Linked DNA regions of Homo sapiens: region 1 is linked to region 2. Evidence: promoter capture Hi-C in 16 types of primary human blood cells and fetal thymus (Javierre and others, 2016). All regions are on one chromosome and are shown on one strand. The core of a region is centred on a gene start or on the middle of the fragment in contact, and the rest is flanking DNA. Distances in the headings are between cores, read along the strand shown.

What was found. The method cuts DNA at HindIII sites, captures the fragments that hold promoters and counts their contacts. A CHiCAGO score of 5 or more calls a contact.
Region 1: a fragment that was not itself captured here is called in contact with the fragment with the promoter of EIF1AY in region 2 in 2 of 17 cell types (naive CD4 T cells and neutrophils); the score reaches 5.8 in naive CD4 T cells.

Annotation. Positions count from the first base shown.
Region 1 is chrY:21,138,405-21,141,366 of GRCh38, forward strand. LOC105377225 (a long non-coding RNA gene) reads left to right here and starts at 229. Exons shown (of 7, transcript XR_007068465.1): 1 at 229-464. The HindIII fragment of the contact is 2,520 bases long and covers 205-2,724 here.
Region 2 is chrY:20,574,423-20,577,443 of GRCh38, forward strand. It overlaps EIF1AY (eukaryotic translation initiation factor 1A Y-linked), which reads left to right and starts at 1,354. Exons shown (of 7, transcript NM_004681.4): 1 at 1,354-1,465. The coding sequence starts at 1,450. It overlaps TTTY10 (testis expressed transcript, Y-linked 10), which reads right to left and starts at 1,093. Exons shown (of 10, transcript NR_197944.1): 1 at 684-1,093. The HindIII fragment of the contact is 11,947 bases long and covers 1-3,021 here.

The DNA of each region.
Region 1 (2,962 bases), core at 215-2,714, 560 kb after region 2:
AGGCATATATGTGGTGGAAATATGCACAGGGCTGAGGATGGCTTATCAAAAACAACCCACTTTATACAAGGAAAATAAGTGGCACTGTGTGCTTGCCTGGAGGCATACCCACAGCTACATAAGATAAGGGGAGTTGCACACACAGGTTTACTGATAAGAGAAGTTACTCAAACTGCTACAGACATGAGAGGAGTTTCTTATAAAAGCTTTCGAATTCAGATGTAACCCAGCAATGCACTCAGACTCCTCTCTGCTGTGGAGAGCTTTTTTTTTTTTTTTTCATATTAAACTTTCACTCCAACTTTATCTTTGTGTTTACAATTCTTAATTTTTTTGTCTTGGATAAAGAACAAAAAACCTGGAGTACTTCTTCAGACAACAAGAAACTTCCAAATTAAGGTGCATTGGCAAGAATGCAACATATTTTGATCCATTGGCTTGGAAGGAGGGAATTCATCAGAAGGGTGAGTAAGAGCCGACTTTTACCTTTAACTATTTACATTCATCTATGAGTCTTCTCATCTATTCCAATCTAGTTTCCTTTCACAGAGGACCTAAGCCAACATGTGGGATTGGAAGAAGGTCCTAGGAAAATTCAAGATTTCTGGCTGGGACTAACCCTCAGTGTTATCTGAAGGTCCTCAGTGTTATCTGAAGACTACTCCAATCCTTGACAGCCCACCAGTGTGTCAGCACAAGGACCTTCCCTCTTACATTTTCCTTCTTTTCTCCCATGGCTATTATGTCACCTATCTCTTCATTGTATACAATGTTGCAGGTGTTTTTTCAGCCTAGAGATATAATCTTGCTTGGTAGAGTAAGTTGGTGTCTTTTTTTGTAACCAGGAATGTAACTTCAAGAAACTGTGTTTTTGTGATTTCCTCGAGACAGAGGAGTTCAAGATTTCTGTCTAAGTATTCACTTAGTAAGGTCTCTTCTACCCCTCAATAATAGACATTCATGACACTATATGGTCAAATATTTCACCCCAAGTGAATATCCTCTTTTCTCTCCATTTGGATTGTTTCTTCCCTCTACATTTGGGTTGGTTTTTCCCTCCCCATTTGGGTTGGTTTTTCCCTCCATGTAAAATCCCAGCATTGCCCAATAAATTTAAACAATTCTTTATGAAACAAGTTAATTTTCTTGTGCTGGGAGGAATATTATAGGAACAGCCAATTAAACTGAAACCTCTTTTTCTAACTTCTGCCTGAAAGGATGGAGTCACAGTTTTTACCTAATATTTCAGACCCTACAGCACTACGTAGGGGAATGGGATTTATTTTTCCCCACTGGGAGCCTTGTTGGCCCTTTGTCTAAAAACTCTGGTTATCTCCCTTTTATATCCCTCTATTAGAGACTAGGCTTCATGCCCCATTTGAAAACAGCAAAGCTCCAGCTTTAACAGTAAGAGGACGGCCATTCCATTTATATGTTCTTTTAAGGCACCTGTTCTACATTCAGCTACATTGGCATTTACACCAGAAATGGGTTTTATGTTTGAAAGTGAATCAGTCTCATTCTTTGGGGTTTCAATGTTTCACTAGGGCCATAGCAAGGGAAACCAAAGATAATACTAAAACACTTCCTCCATTAAGGAGGGAAGTCCAGCAGATGCCCAGATGCAACTGTCACATAGTCTTTCCTGAGACCCATCCATCAAGGAGTGACCCAGACCCAAGTCTACGAGGTCAAAGAATAATCACCATCAGAGGACTAAAGCCACTTGGGTGAGCATGGCTTGCCCCATTGCTTAGCTCCTCTGCTACCATCATTTGAAGGTCACACTTGAAACCACTGGTGGCATATTCAACACAATGCTGGGACCCAGGAGCCAAGGAGAAATAACAGTCTGTGGGACACTCCTACTGTCTTCTTCTCCTCCCTGGGTCACACTGAAAAAAAGCAGGAGACAGAGGGATGCCTCTTTTCTTGTCTATTTTTCTAGAGAGGTGACAGTCCAACTTTAATCTGCACCCCTCTGAGTGCACTCTGAAACTTTTAGAACTACTTTGACCCGATGACTTTGAAGAAAAAGGTGACCATTTTCTTTTGCACGAGAGCATGACATTTTTTACTAAACCTTCACAAGCATTATGAGATCAACCCAGCTTTTTTAACAGTCATGGCAGGTAGTCCCATGGAGAATAATTCCGCAGAGTTAGAAAAGCAATTTCTAAAGAAACCATCTCAGAATGCCCCTTATTAATCACCACCTCAAGTTTTCTTTTCATTGCAGGAACTTACACAAATAAAGGGGGAACTAGGTAGGTTCTCTGATGACCCTAATAAACATAGAGAGGTTTTCCAAAATTTGACCCAAATGTTTCATGTTACATGGAGAGATGCTATGCTACATTTAAGCCAAAACCCTAACTGTTACAGAAAAGCAGGCAGTCTTGCAGGCAGCAGAAACATTTGGAGATAAACAGCGTAACTCCTATAGCCAGTCTAAAAATCTTGAAAGGAAAAAATCTAAGGGATAAAAGAGGATAAGGAGAGACAGGGTCCCCATTCCCAATAGTAAGAAAAATGAGGCTCCCTTAAAAGCCCTAATTGGAGCCTGAGTGATCTCATAAATGAGTGGAAATTAAAAGAATTTCTGATATACATTTAAAAAGACTTGGAAATAAGCAGAACAAGACCTCTTAATTACTCTCAACTGTATGAGTTGCACCAGAAAATATATGGAAATCCACCTGCCTTCTTGGAGAGACTGAGAGAAGCTTTAGTAAGACACACTTCCCTGTCTTCCAGTTCAGTAAAAAACAGGTTCAATACTCAGGCAGCCCCTGATATCAGAAGAAAGTTGCTGAAATAGGCCCTGTCTAAAAATCTTTCTAGTTTTTCTCACCAAACAATCCCACATTCCTAAGCCCTCTCCACTGTACTGTCTCATTCACAATCTTGCAAAACTTGACAGAAGCATTTAGTCTTTTACTGTAACATGGCCTGGTCCCAA
Region 2 (3,021 bases), core at 104-2,603:
TTATATGCCCAACAAGTAAGATAATTTAGAATAAATGAACAAAGTCCTGATACATACATACTATTTACCTTGCAGAAAGGGAAAAAAAAGGATTAGGAAGATACTATACTTTGTATATGATGGCCAATTATACGCCCAACAAGTTTTATAATTTAGAATAAATGAACAAATTTCTGGTACATACAAACTACCAGAACTGACTTGGGAATAAATACAGCACGAATTCATAATCCAAACTAAGGCCTAGGACCATTTAAAAAATTTACATCAATCCTCGAATGTGTCCAAAAACACAGAAGAAAAAGGGACACTACACAGTTCATTCTGTGAAGCCGGGATTATATTGATCCTAAAGTCAAAGTCATCACACGATACAAGCCAATATATCTTAACACAGATGCTAAGATTCTAAACATAATAGTACACACACAACAAATCCAGTAAATTAAATGATTGTATACCATAATCAAATGGAATTTGTCTTGAAATAATTTGACCTCCACAGCCAGTCCATTTGAGACATTCGGTTAAGCCATGATTTATTATAAGATTCAGATGCTTAGTCTCACTCCTTCCTATGTATATTTACTTTCCATTTCCTGTATATATTTACTGTCTACTTTTTGTCAGTATTCCGCTGGGTGCTAGCAATTGTAAGCAACAGATGCGGCCTCTGTACTTACATGCTTTACTGTGAGGTGGTGAGGTAGAGAAGATAAGACTGAAAAAAATAGGCCGGGCGCGGTGGCTCACTACTGCAATCCCAGGAATTTGGGCGGCAGAGGCGGGAGGATCACTAGGTCAGGGGTTTGAGAGCCTGGCCAACATGGTGAAACCCCATCTCTACTAAAAATACAAAAATTAGACGGGCAGATCGCGCCCCTGCACTCCAGCATGGGCAACAAGAGCGAAACTTCGTTGTCAAAAAAAAAAAAAAAAAAGAGAGAAAAGTGATAAACATTCTGAACATAGAGGGCCTTGTCCTAAGCCAGTCCTCCAAATTCACTGTATAAGAGTAAGGGCTCTCTTAAAATTTAGGCGTTTACAGTTAAATGACCCACGAACTTCTGAAACTGGAAGACCGTTTTTTAGCAAAGGAGAATACTCCAGGGCCCCGCCCATTTCATCCTTGACTCCACCTTCTCCATGCTGAGTCCCGCCCCGCTTCCTGTTTATTCATCCTGCAGCAAACTCTCCGGTATCCTGATGGAGTCTACTAGGTGTCAGTCATTTGGCCGTGCCTCAGCCGAAGAGAGGCGGGGAAAAGCATCGTAATCAGCTGCGTCGCCTTTTGGTGACGCCAGAGAGTGCGCGTCAGCAGTTTATTAGAGAGCTCTGTAGCCAGCCTCTTCTGCGCACCCACCTGCTGCATCTTAGTTCAGTCGGCTCTTAGAGTAGTAACCGCCAGAAAGGAGTCGGAAGAGGTCTCACGAGGCTGTCATCACCGCCATGCCCAAGAATAAAGGTACTGCTGTAAGCCTCTGGGACTATACCTCGGCTTGCTCTGCCAGTAACCCCGACGCCTGTTCCAGGCCGCAGTGACTGTTCTAACGGCGGTACTGGCCACTGCGACCCCAGCACTGTGTTCGGGAAAGGAGCTGGGAATGCCCTATTTGGTCACATTGGGGTGGGACAGACGCCATTTTTGTGGGGCCTCCTTCGGAAGATAGCGGGCTTTTGCTGCTGATTTCACGCCAGACGGAAAACGTATAGGTAGGGACGGTTGAGGGACCTTAACCGGACGGCCTGGCTTTCCAGAATAGGCACATGCAAACACTTCCCTGCTACTTTCCTGGAAGCGGTTCTTAACTTTGAAGACTTACCTATCTGGACAGTTAAAAGTATTGCTAAGGATACTCCCTTTTCCTTGTTAAACAGTGGGGAAGCCTTGAAGCATGTTTAGGTTCATTTCTGGCGTTTTACTCTACCCCATCCCTTTATAGAGTGTAACATTCTTTTGCAGAAGATTTGTTACCTATTTAGGCAGGTTTTCAACTTCCGTATCCGATAAATATTGTGGGAGTAAAGATATCAACGTTCCCTTCATTCTGAGGCTAAACTTTCACACGAAACTTAGACTTGAAAATAAGTTTACTCACAGCTTCTAAAGTAGGAGGTCTAACCTCGGTAGAACCCTTTCTCAGTCATTTCTGAAAGAAATTCTCGTTTTTATACACCTGAGGTAATCTCTCACTTTTAGTGCCCTTGTAATTGCTTGAAGAAAACTGTAGGTGGAAACAAAATATTATTTTCCACAGGAGGGGACCATGTTTTATAGTCCACAAAAACTCTGTTTAGATTATTCCTTCCTGGGACCCAGACCAATTTGTCTTCTTTTTACTTGCCTGTTGGCAGCATGGAATCTGTTTCATTTTCTCTTTTTAGCTGTCACGACACACAGCTCTTGAGGTACTTGGTGACAGTACAGTGCAGTCTTTCCTGGGCATTACTCTTTGCTCTCCCGAAAACCCACTAACGGGTTGTGTGTATAATAAGGTTTTATTTTATTTTATTTTATTTTTTACTGCAAAATTATTGGAGGATAAAGTGTATTCTGGGAGAAGTCTAATTAGAAAGAGTTAGCAAAGGCTTATGCTTTTTCACTAACATTTTCTCAGATGGTACTGAACAACTTCAGTAGGTATCTTGTTCTCACCTTTATTTCTAGTGATGAGATTCCCAGTTCTCTAAGCCATCAGCTCTAAAGATCAGAGTATCTCCCTTTGCAAAATGTCCATTAAATCTTTGCTGATGTTATTATCCCTGTACCTGACTCTATCCTTAAATAGTAAGGCTTCCTTTATTCTTGTAGGGTAGAACTTTTAAACTGAGTGATGCCTAAAAATGTTCTCAATAAAGAGAGTATCTCCAAAACACGTCGGATTTGTTTAAAGAGGAAGTGTGGATTTTTTGATCTTAGAAAGGAAACGAGATAAAATATTAAACGACTTTAATTTTTGTATGATCATGCCTAGCCTCATTCCTCTAAAATATAATTTAAAGTGGATTCTGTTACATGGT